Linked DNA regions of Homo sapiens: region 1 is linked to region 2. The links are contacts of gene promoters, found by promoter capture Hi-C in blood cells and fetal thymus (Javierre and others, 2016). All regions are on one chromosome and are shown on one strand. Each heading gives the region's core, a stretch centred on a gene start or on the middle of the fragment in contact. The rest is flanking DNA. Distances are from core to core; before and after follow the strand shown.

What was found. The method cuts DNA at HindIII sites, captures the fragments that hold promoters and counts their contacts. A CHiCAGO score of 5 or more calls a contact.
Region 1: a fragment that was not itself captured here is called in contact with the fragment with the promoter of ACTN4 in region 2 in 3 of 17 cell types (total CD8 T cells, M2 macrophages and naive CD4 T cells); the score reaches 5.3 in total CD8 T cells.

The regions. Positions count from the first base shown.
Region 1 is chr19:38,918,517-38,924,283 of GRCh38, reverse strand. SARS2 (seryl-tRNA synthetase 2, mitochondrial) reads left to right here. Exons shown (of 16, transcript NM_017827.4): 3 at 2,017-2,046; 4 at 2,617-2,757; 5 at 2,838-2,892; 6 at 4,135-4,198; 7 at 4,417-4,522; 8 at 5,471-5,518; 9 at 5,754-5,767. Among named protein-coding and RNA genes, the nearest start is that of CCER2, 9.2 kb to the right of the region's middle. RefSeq lists an enhancer at 5,275-5,767. The HindIII fragment of the contact is 441 bases long and covers 4,072-4,512 here.
Region 2 is chr19:38,644,522-38,651,036 of GRCh38, reverse strand. It overlaps ACTN4 (actinin alpha 4), which reads right to left and starts at 3,388. Exons shown (of 21, transcript NM_004924.6): 1 at 3,130-3,388. The coding sequence starts at 3,291. RefSeq lists enhancers at 706-785, 1,414-1,708 and silencers at 1,414-1,708, 1,667-1,865, 3,049-3,128, 3,359-3,548. The HindIII fragment of the contact is 8,558 bases long and covers 1-5,724 here.

The DNA of each region.
Region 1 (5,767 bases), core at 3,043-5,542, 270 kb before region 2:
CCTCAGCTGCTTAGGATCATGGAAGGTTCAGAATGTCAAGGGGCCTTGGTTGCAGGCCCTCAAATGCACACTGATAGACTTTACCTCTCTGAGCTTCCATTTTCGAATCTACAGACAGGGTATATTAGTCCATTTTCTTCTTTTTTTTTTTTGAGACAGAGTCTCACTGTGTCACCCAGACCAGAGTACAGTGGCACGATCTCGGCTCACTGCAACCTCCACCTCCCAGGTTCAAGGGATTCTCGTGCCTCAGCCTCCTGAGTCGCTGGGATTACAGGCACGTGCCACTGCACCCAGCTAATTTTTTTTTGAGACTGAGTCTCGCTCTTCCACCTAGGCCAGACTGCAGTGGCACTATCTCGGCTCACTGTAAGCTTTGCCTCCCGGGTTCACGCCATTCTCCTGCCTCAGCCTCCCGAGTAGCTGGGACTACAGGCGCCCGCCACCGCGCCCAGCTAATTTTTTTTCTGTATTTTTAGTAGAGACCATGTTAGCCAGGATGGTCTCGATCTCCTGACCTCGTGATCCGCCCGCCTCAGCCTTCCAAAGTGCTGGGATTACAGGCGTAAGCCACCAAGCCCGGCCTGATTTTTGTATTTTTAGTACAAGGTTTTAGAGATGAGGTTTCTCCATGTTGGCCAGGCTGCTCTCCAACTGCTGGCCTCAGGTGATCTGCCCACCTCAGCCTCCCAAAGTGCTGAGATTACATTTGTGAACCACCACGCCTGGCCCCATTTTCACACTGCTATAAAGAAAACCTGAGGCCGGGCGCGGTGGCTCACGCCTGTAATCCCAGCACTTTGGGAGGCCGAGGTGGGCGGATCACGAGGTCAGGAGATCGAGACCATCCCGGCTAAAACGGTGAAACCCCGTCTCTACTAAAAATACAAAAAAATTAGCCGGGCGTAGTGGCGGGCGCCTGTAGTCCCAGCTACTAGGGAGGCTGAGGCAGGAGAATGGCGTGAACCCGGGAGGCGGAGCTTGCAGTGAGCCGAGATCCCCCCACTGCACTCCAGCCTGGGCGACAGAGCGAGACTCCGTCTCAAAAAAAAAAAAAAAAAAAAGAAAACCTGAGATCAGGCTGGGCGCGGTGGCTCACGCCTGTAATCCCAGCACTTTGGGAGACCAAGGCAGGTGGATCACAAAGTCAGGAGATCGAGACCATCCTGGCTAACATGGTGAAACCTTGTCTCTACGAAAAATACAAAAAAAATTAGCCGATCGTGGTGGCGGGCACCTGTAGTCCCAGCTACTCAGGAGGCTGAGGCAGGAGAATGGCGTGAACCCAGGAGGTGGAGCTTGCAGTGAGCCAAGATCGCGCCATTGCACTCCAGCCTGGGCGACAGAGCAAGACTCCGTCTCAAAAAAAAAAAAAAGAATACCTGAGACTGGGTAATTTATAAAGAAAAGAGGTTTAATTGACTCACAGTTCCATATGGCTGGGAGGCCTCAGGAAACTTAAAATCATGGCGGAAGGGGAAGCAAGGCACTTTCCCTTCCACATGGTGGCTGGAGACAGCCACAGGGGGTAACTGCCAAATGCTTTTAAACCATCAGATCTCGTGAGAACTCACTATCAGGATAACAGCATGGGGGAAACCGCCCCCAGGACCCGATCACCTCCCACCAGGTCCCTTCCTCAACAGGTGGAATTACAATTTGAGATATTATTTGGGTGGAGACACAGCCAAACCATATCACAGGGTTTACACGAATGCCTACCTCCTAAAGTGGATTTTGAAGAAATCATGGCATGGGAGAGCCCTGTACATAGAGCCTGGCATGGAGGCATCACTTCCTATACGGATCTGCGGCTGTGATTACTGTTAATTATCTTGCCTCCTTGTAGCGTTAGCAATAGAGAAACAGAAACACAGAGTTGCAGAGGGACCCAGCTAGGCACTGACAGAGCAGGAGACTAAGATCCTCTGGCCTTGTTTGACCTTTCACCATTTTTTCTCTTCCCCACCCTCGACTTTGTCAACCTAATCACCCACCCTGTCTCTTTTCTACCAGGCAAACCAGGACAGTGGTGAAGTGCAGCAGGTACTGTGAAGAGTTGATGTCCTATCCAGGGTTGGGGGTGGGCAGGGAGGATACCCTGCCAGTCACGATTCTACTATTGTAACAGAAAACAACTCAAACAGGTTTAAGGGGAAAAAAAAAATAGGCTCTATTGATGCATGAAACTAAAACTGGCTTCAGGTGCGGCTGGATCCAGGTGCTGGCTCCATATTTGGTCCTACGTTCCTCCCATTCCCAGGCCAGCTTTCTCTCCTTGTGTAAGTAGGAGGCAAAGTCAAGCACGCTTTCCTGATAGTTCCAGTTAAAGTCCTGGGGCTGATTCTCATGAGTTCAGCTGACATCAGGTGCCTGTCTCTGAGCCAGTCATTGTGGCCAAGGCAATAGAACGTTCTAGTTGGCCAGGCCTGATTCTTTTCCCCACAAACCTGCCATGTGGTGGTAAGGGAAGTTCTGCGAAGACGTTCAGGATCCTGGGCCTGGAGAAGAGGCATGAATGTCCACCACAGGGGCTCTGCCGGTCAGGATCAAGGTCACACTGGATGAGGGAGTCCTGACCCTCTCCCGGGCTGAGCCCACCTGTGCTGCCCCCAGGACCCCAAGTACCAGGGTCTGCGGGCACGTGGCCGGGAGATCCGGAAGGAGCTTGTTCACCTGTACCCCAGGGAGGCCCAGCTTGAGGAGCAGTTCTACCTGCAGGCGCTGAAGCTGCCCAACCAGACCCACCCAGACGTGGTGAGCACCGTGCTGGGTGGCAGGGAGGCCAGGGGCCCACCTAGTGCCACCTTTCCGTGACTCCTGCTGTCTCCCTGCAGCCCGTCGGGGATGAGAGCCAGGCTCGAGTGCTCCACATGGTCGGAGACAAGCCAGGTGGGCCACACCCCAGGCCTGGGAGCTGACAAGCCCTGCGGTGTGGGGGTTCTGGGGTCTCGGGGTGGGGGCCCCTGGGGTCTGGGAACATGTCTGGAGCCTGGAGAACTCCTGGCGGTACAGGAGGTGGCTCCAGCTTCCTGCCTTGGCCGAGCTCGAGCTGTCTCTGAGAGGCGGTCCTTGGGTTTTCATTCTCTCCCCCTTCACCATTGGGCAGTCTCACCCTGTGTTGTGTGATTGTATCGTATGTGTGTGAGTGTGTGTCGTGTATGTATGTGTTGTGTGACTGTGTGTCATGTGTGTCTGTATCTGTGTGTCTGTATCTGTATGTGTGTGTCTGTATCTGTGTATCTGTGTGTGTCTGTATCTGTGTATCTGTGTGTGTCTGTATCTGTGTGTGTGTGTCTGTGTTTGTGTGTGTCTGTATCTGTGTCTGTGTCTGTGTGTGTGTGTCTATGTGTGTGTCTATCTCTGTGTGTGTATATCTGTGTTTGTGTGTGTGTGTGTCTGTGTGTGTCTATGTATCTGTGTGTATGTATCTGTGTGTCTTTCTCTGTGTCTGTGTGTATGTGTCTGTCTCTGTGTGTCTGTGTGTGTATCTGCATATCTCCGTGTATCTCTGTGTGTATGTCTGTATCTGTGTCTGTGTATCTGTGTCTTTGTGTGTATCTGTGTGTGCGTGTCTGTCTTTGTGTGTCTGTATCCGTGTATCTGTGTGTCTGTCTCTGCGTGTCTGTGTATGTGTCTGTCTCTGTGTGTCTGTATATGTGTGTGTGTCTTCGTACCTCTGTGTGTATCTCTGTGTGTGTATGTATGTGTGTGAGTGTGTGTGTGTCTCTGTCTCTCTCTCTGACCCCCCTGCTTTGGTCCCTGTCTCCGGGGCTTTTTCTCCCCAACTCTGTGCCTCCTCTCTGATTCTCCTCCTCCCTTCCTCGTGGTGTTTCCTTCTCCTCTGGCCTCTCTCCTCTGTTTCTAACTCTGCCTTCCCCACCCCGCGCCCTCTTATTTCCCTCTCTGCCTCCTCTCATTTCCTCTCCCTGTCTCTGTTTTTATCTCCCTCCCTTCCTGTCTGTCTTTTCTTCCCTTTCCCTCCCTTTCCGTGTCTTCTTCTCCCTTCTCTCCTCCTGCCCCTCCTTTATTTTCTCTCACCGTCCCTCCTCTCTGCTGTCTCTGGAAGCTTCTATCTGGGCCCCATCCCTCTCTCCCCGCTGCCTTACACCGGTGCTTTTCACCCACATCCAGTTTTCTCCTTCCAACCTCGGGGCCACCTGGAAATTGGCGAGAAACTCGACATCATCCGTCAGAAGTGAGCCCCTCCCCTGGCTCCCCACGCCCCTCTCCCAGCTGCCTGCACCCCGACAGCTGGCTCCTGCCTCATTGGCCTCAGCGTGAGATGTGGAAATGCCATGAATCTTTGATGCCCCAGCCCCACCCAGCAGCCGGGCCTCTTCCCCCGGGTGTTTTCATCCCCACATTCCCTGCCAGCCTGGCCCATGTGCACCCGCCTGTCTGTCTGTCTCCCAGGCGCCTGTCCCACGTGTCTGGCCACCGGTCCTATTACCTGCGCGGGGCTGGAGCCCTCCTGCAGCACGGCCTGGTCAACTTCACATTCAACAAGCTTCTCCGCCGGGTATGGGCCAAGATAGGAGGGCTGCCTGGAGGGGGTGGCATCGAAGCTGAGCTCAGAGGGCCCAACGGGGATGGGAGTGATCTCTGCTCTGCCCTAGTCACTGCTCTCAGAGCTTCATGTGTATCATTGACACATTTAGTCCTTACGACAACTTTATGAAGTGGGTGCTGTCATCATCCCCACTTTACAGAGAGGGCTTGAGGCCCAGAGAGGGGAGGTACCTATAGCCCAAGGTCTCACAGCCAGTCTGGAGCTGGGCCTAGAGCCTGTGCTTGTAATCATTGCACCTCACTGCCTGCTTGCGGTATAAAGGGAGCATTTGGGAATCATAGCATCCATTGAAACATGGCAGGGACTGGTTGCATGGAGCATTGGTCACGGTGAGGAACTCAGACATTTTCAGAGGGTACTAGGGAGCCATGGGAGGCTTTTAAGCAGGGGAGGGTGTGGCCAAATCTGTACTTTTTTGTTTTTTGAGACGGAGTCTCGCTCTGTCACCCAGGCTGGAGTACAGTGGTGCAATCTTGGCTCACTGCAACCTCCACCTCCCGGGTTTAAGTAATTCTCCTGCCTCAGCCTCCTGAGTAGCTGGGATTACAGGCACATGCCACCATGCTGGCTAATTTTTTTTTTTTTCTTTTTGACAGAGTTCGCTCTGTCACCCAGACTGGAGTGCAGTAGCACGATCTCCATGCCGGCTAATTTTTGCCTTTTTAGTGGAGAGGGGGTTTTGCCATGTTGGCCAGGCTGGTCTCAAACTCCTGGCCTCAAGTGATCCGCCCACCTCAGCCTCCCAAAGTGCTGGGATTACATGGGTGAGCCACTGCGCCAGCCCCTGCCTCAGTTTCGTCTGAGGAGGAAGGGGCTCTGCAGCACCCCTTCTTCAGGGCTGAGCTTGGGGTCTGGTAGGGGTCCCAGCTCTGCTCACTCATCCTCTCCCCTGAACAGGGCTTCACCCCCATGACGGTGCCAGACCTTCTCCGCGGAGCAGTGTTTGTGAGTGAGGCCTCTCCGCTTCCCTCGCCCACCTGGGTGTCAGGCCCTGCCGTGGGTGCCCGAGGCAGGGAAACCTGAGGAGACCGCCCTGGGGCTGGGTTGAGGGGGCCAGGCCATACCAGGGAGGCCAGGGCAGCTCCAGATGTTTTCAGGGGAGGAGCTGGGGTTGGGACTGTAAAACGAGAGGCCAGGGTTACCTGTCCCCTGATCCCTGTGGCCTGGCCTCCTCCCCCAGGAAGGCTGTGGGAT
Region 2 (6,515 bases), core at 2,139-4,638:
GCCAGTCTGGGTGCAGTGGCTCACTCCTGTAATCCCAGCACTTTGGGAGACCGAGGCGGGCGGATCTCCTGGGGTCGGGAGTTTGAGACCAGCCCGACCAACATGGAGAAACCCCGTCTCTACTAAAAATACAAAAAGCCAGGCGTGGTGGCGCATGCCCGTATTCCCAGCTACTCGGGAGGCTGAGGCAGGAGAATCGCTTGAACCCGGGAGACGGAGGTTGCGGTGAGCCAAGATCACGCCCGGGCAACAAGAGCAAAACTCCGTCTCCAAAAACAAACAAACAAACAAACAAACAACCCAGCCAGCCTGGGAGTGCAGGGATGTTTCTTAGTAGGAAGGTAGAGAGCCACACAGATTGGTGTATTCCTTTCCATTACTCCTTCCCCCATTTCAAAAAGAATCCCTACCCCATAACAGGAAAGGGCACAGAGGTGAAGCAGTAGTTTCCCCCACAGAGCAGCTAAGGGTAAATATTTGCTGGAGGAGGTGTAAAGCAGGAGGTACTAGAATCTGGCTCTGGCTGAGACACGAAAGCAGATGGTATTAGCGGACTCTGTGAGCCACCCTTTTCCCTCAAACCTGCCCGGCCCCAGAGGAAGGGAGCTGGGAGGTAAGAGAATGACACATGGCAGCAAGGCCTGGAGGTTCTGGGGAGTCCTGGTTTCCACCCAGGGCCTGAATGGTGCCCCAGCCTCACCCTGTAGGCAAGGGACACTATAACCACGAACAAAGCCCACACCCTAACTCTCGGGAGGGAGTGAAACCCGGCTCGCAAAAGGAGTCACTTGAGGAGTGGCAGAAGACAGGAAGGGAGAGAAAAGGAAGGTCCCCCCACCCTTATCACCTGAGAAAAAAGGGGGAGGGGTTTATTTTCTCCAGCACCTTCAGCTGCAGAAGACAAAGCCTAGACATTCTCAAAACCACCACTGTGGCCCCTGCTCCCTCCCAACTTTCCAGGTCTCTTGGCAACCTTTTCCAACCTGGCACTGCCTCAGGCAATAAATTATTGTTGAGACTCCAGAACAGATCTCACCTTCCCCTCAAAAAGTGAATTTATGCCAACTATCGCAACCTGTCCATCCTGCAGTAGGTGGGGCCACGGATAAGGACACCCCTCCCACCAAGCCACTGCCATGCCCCTCAGTTACTACGGATGAGGAAATTCAAGCAACGCTGGTAATGGACCCAAGGTTATGCCCGGCCCCACCTCAGGCTGCCTTGGAACAGCTGCTCCTTCCACCCTTCCCACCCTTTCCCCTCCAGCCTGGGCTAGGCTGCCTGTGCCAAGCTCCTGGCCACCAACTCGCGCCCTCGAGAGGCTTCCAGTCACTCCCCACTCTGCCAGGTCACCACTCAAAGCCCTGTAGCCTGTTCCTGAAAAATCTCCACCAAACTCACTCTCCCAAACCTTCAGAGCCCTGTCCAAAGTCCCAACTCTACACACATCCCTCTTTATTAACAGAATCACCGCAGGGAACCCTCGGATCCCTTTGCATTTTGCAGATAACAAAACTGCCCGGAGAGTTCAAGGGTCTTGTCCAAGGCCACAGAGCGAATCAGTAACAAATCTGGAAAGAAAATCCAGATCTCCAGATCCCACGAAATGCTTCCAACTTCAAGTACCTCCCACCCATTTCACGCACAAAACTTCTGAACAACCCCTTCCCCCCACACACACCCACTCACCACGCTCCTTTCTTTAGCTCTTCCTGCACACACTCAGAGCTCCCCCCTCAACCACACTGGATTTATCCCCCCCCCACAGACACTGACACCTCGCTCGGGGATCCCACTCCACTTCTGATCACCTTTTCACTGCTGTGGGGCCCTACCAAGTTGCCCCCCCCGCCCCCCAAAAAAACAGTGCCACCTGAACACAGTCTCTGCTTCAGGATCCCTTCACCTACCTCCGGTCTCTCCAAAAAAGACACAATTCTTCCTGGACACTCTCAACGCTTCCTCCCCAAACTCATTCTGCCTGCACGACACACACACGCTCTCCAGTCCCGGGACTGCACCTCCAGGAGCCAGCACCCCCTCCTCAAATTCCTTTCTCAGTCTATCCATTACGCATTCCCTTTCTAATGAGACTTTCATTTTCCTAAACGAACCTCTCTCCCATTATCCACCATTCCAGCTCACCCTCCCTCCCACCGATCTCACCTTCTCCCTCTACACTTCCTCATTCTCTCCAACGCTTTAGCTTTTCAGCTTCCCATCAATTCTTTAGAAATCCCTCCCCAAATTATCCCCACTCTCCGTATCCCCTCTACTTCGGCTTCTCCATCCCTCATCAATTCCTCTTATTATTCCTCCTATCTCTTAATCTTCTCCCCTTTGGAACAGGGCACCACAAATAAATCTCACCCCCTTCAAAAACGTCTGATTCACGGGCCCCTTAACTTCTTCCTTCCGCACCCCACCCTCCTCAGACCCCCAGTCCTGGCACCTCTACCCTCCTCACACCCTAAGCCCATGTCTTTTCATGCTCAATTCTACCCTTAGCCCCTGTTTTCATCTTCCCAGCCTCCCTAGTCTTCCCACCCGTCTTCAGACCCCACAATCTCCACTCCATCCTCACACTTGATTCTTCATCCCCTTTATAACTCCCCCAACCTGAGGCTCCCCCAATTCCAATCTCCTTCAGATCTTTCTGCTCTCCAAATAACCAACCCCTCCACACTCAAGCTCCTCCTCACACTTCCCAGACCCAGAAATTCCCTTCTCAGCCTCCCCTGATTCTCCTCCCAGCACCCCCAACCCATGCTCCGACCCTTCAAGCCCGCCTCGGATCCCAGTTCCATTTCAGCCTGCCCAGTCATCTCCTCGGTTTCCCCTAATGGCACGCCCAGACCCTCCAAATCCTTCATCAGCCTTCCCGATTCCTTTTATTTGACTCCCATATTCCCCACCCAGCCGCCAATTCTCTTTTCAGATTCCCAATTCCTTCCTCTAGCTCGGCGATTCCTCCTCAGGACTCCAATTCCCTTCCCGGACCCGCCAATTCCTTCTCGGGACCCCCCCGTTCCCATCACAGACGCTCCAGTTACCTTTCAGGACCTCCCACCCCTCCCCGGGCCCCCTCAGAAAAGCCCCTCCAGCCCGTCCGGCCCGCGGGCCGCGCACCTTGCGCTGCTGCTTCTCCCAGGCCGGGTCCAGCAGCAGGTCCCGGTCCCAGTCGTCCTCCTGGGCCATGTAGTCGCCCATGCTGCCCCCGCCGCCAGCGCCATTGCCCGCGCTGCTGGGGCCGTACTGGTACGACTGGTTCGCCGCGTGGTAGTCCACCATTCCGCCGCCTCTCGCTCGCCCACCAGCCTGTCCGCTCCCGCCTCAGCTCCCGCCCCTCTGCCCGAGCCGCCGCCGCTACCGCCGCTTCAGCTGCTTCAGCCCGCCCTCCGCCCGCGCCTGCGCACTGCCCGCCGCGCCTGCGCACAGCGCCGAGGTTGCCGCCCTCCCGCGCGCGCGCGCCTGCCAAACCAGAAAAGGCACCAAGGCCGCGCTCCGGAGCTTGGCGCCTGCGCAGAGTCCCGCTTCCTGGCCGCCCGACTCAGCCCGGGGGCGAGCCGCGCCCCCTCTCCGGCGTGAACGCGCGCGTCGTTCGCGTATGGGCGGGGCCAGATCATGAATGATTCATAAGGGCAGGCCCCGCCATCGGACCTGAACCAGCTCAGGCTTGGAATGCACTGCACCGGGTTCCCATTCAGCGACACAAATTCAACAAATATTTATTGAACACCTATTCTGTGCCAGACTATGTTTTACGCAGGCACTAAAAACAGAAAAAAATCCCAACTTTCATGAAACTACCTTCTAGTAAAGGAAGCCACATACACACAAATCTACTTTTATTTTTATTATTTTTTGAGACGGAGTCTCGCTCTGTCTCCCAGGCTGGAGTGCAGTGGCGCGATCTCGGCTCACTGCAACCTCCGCCTCCCGGATTCAAGCAATTCTCCTGCCTCAGCCTCCCGAGTAGCTGGGAACACAGGCATGCTCCACCACACCCGGCTAATTTTTGTATTTTTTTAGTAGAGACGGGGTTTCACCATGTTGGCCAGGCTGGTCTTGAACTCTTGAGCTCAAGCGATCCTCCCGCCTCAGCCTCCCAAAGTGCTGGAATTACAGGCGTGAGCCACCGCGCCCAACCAACACACAAATTTTTTTTTTTGAGACGGAGTTTCGCTCTTGTTGCCCAGGCTGGAGTGCAATGGCGTGATCTGGGCTCACTGCAACCTCCGCCTCCCAGGTTCAAGCTATTCTCCTGCCTCAGCCTCCCGAGTAGCTGGGATCACAGGCATGTGCCACCACTCCTGGCTAATTTTGTATTTTTAGTAGAGACGGGGTTTCTCCATGTTGGTCAGGCTGGTCTCAAACTCCCGACCTCAGGTGATCCGCCCACCTCGGCCTCCCAAAGTGCTGGGCTTACAGGCATGAGCCACTGCGCCTGGCCTCAACACTCAAAATTTTAAAAAATATGTAGACAGGCACAGGGGCTCACACCTGTAATCCCAGCACTTTGGGAAGCTGAGGCGGGAGGATGGCTTGAGCCCAAGAGTTCAAGGCCAGCCTAGGCAACATAACAAGAACCTGTCTCTACAAGAAATGTAAAAATTCACTGGGCATGGCTGTGTGCACCTGTAGTCCCAGCTACTCAGGAGGCTGAGGAAGGGACATCACTTGAGCCCAGGAGTTCCAGTCTGCAGTGAGCTGTGATCACACCAATGCACTCCAGAAGCGAAATCCTGTCTCAAAAATATACATAAAAGTAAAAAATAGGTAGTATTGTATATTCCAAGGTGTTGAGTATTTGGAGAAAAATCAAGCATGGGCTGGAATGCAAATAAACTACTCAGGTAGGCTTCATGGAGAAGGCAGACATTTAAACAAAGGTGCGAGCCACTGCATCAGGAAGCATCTTAAATTTAAATATTCAGCCAGGCACTGGTGGCTTACTCTTGCAATCCCAGCACTCTGGGGAGTCAAGGCTGGAAGAGTGCTTGAGCCCAAGAGTTTGAGGCCAGACTGGGTAACATAACAAGATCTCATCTCTACAAAAAAATGTTTACATTAAAAATAAATGGCCGGGCGCAGTGGCTCATGCCTGTAATCCCAGCACTTTGGGAGGCCGAGGCAGGCAGATCACGAGGTCAGGAGTTAGAGGCCAGCCTGGCCAACATGGTGAAACCCCGTCTCTACTAAAAATACAAAAATTAGCCGGGCTTGGTGGCATGCACCTGTAATCCCAGCTACCCAGGGGGCTGAGGTAGGGGAATCACTGGAACTCGGGAGGCAGAGGCTGCAGTAAGCCGAGATCGCGCCACTGTACTCCAGCCTGGGCGACAGAGCAAGACTCCGTCTAAAATAAAAATAAAAATAAATAAATAAATATCCGGCCAGGTGTGGTGGCTCACGCCTGTAATCCCAGCACTTTGGGGGGCCGAAGTGGGCGGATCACCCCAGGTCAGGAGTTCAAGACCAGCCGGGCCAACGACTCCGTCTCTACTAAAAATACAAAATTAGCCAGGCATAGTGGCACATGCCTGTAATCCCAGCTACTCAGGAGGCTGAGGTAGGAGAATAGCTTGAACCTGGGAGACGGAGGTTGTGGTGAGCCAAGATTGCACCATTGTACTCCAGCTTGGGCAACAAGAGCGAAACTCCATCTCAAATAATAATAATAATAAATATCCAAAATAGAGTTCCTGATCTTCCCCCCAAGCTTGGTCATCCCATCCCACAGTCATCCCTCTTCAATTCGTGCACCTCCAGCCTTGCAGTTGCTGAGGCTACAGACCTTGCGGTCATCCTTAATGCCTCTTTGTCTTCACAACCCCATCCAGTTCTTCAGGAAATTCTGTCATTCCATCTTGAAAGAATACACAGAACCCACCCACTTCCCCCTGCCCCACTGCGCCACCCAGGTTCTGTCTACCCTCGCCTCGCCTTCCCTTGGGCCATTGCAGCAGTTCCCCACTGTCTCCCAGCTCCCCCTCCCACCCCCTTCTCTTTCCCAGGAGAAGCTGGAGGGAGCCTGTGAATGAATGACTGAGTCAGATCACATTCCTCCCTCCTCTGTTCAAACCTTCCTGTGGCTCCACGCTCAGGGTAACAGTCAAAGTCAAGGAAAGGAAGAAAGGCTGCAGAGGAGTCTGCCCTGCCCTGCCTTGCCCAGCCCAGCCCAGCCCAGCCCAGTGTTTTTTTCCTTTTTTTTTTTTTATTGGAGGTGGAGTCTCGCCCTGTCACCCAGACCAGAGTGTAGTGGCATGATCTCGGCTCACTGCAACCTCCGCATCCCGAGTTCAAGCGATTCTCCTGTCTCAGCCTCCAGAGTAGCTGGGATTACAGGCATATGCCACCATGCCCGGCTAATTTTTATATTTTTAGTAAAGAGGGGTTTTGCCATGTTGGCCAGGCTGGTCTTGAACTCCTGAGCTCAGGTGATCTGCCTGCCTCAGCCTCCCAAAGTGCAGGGATTACGGGCATGAGCCACTCTACCCGGCCAGCCCAGTGTT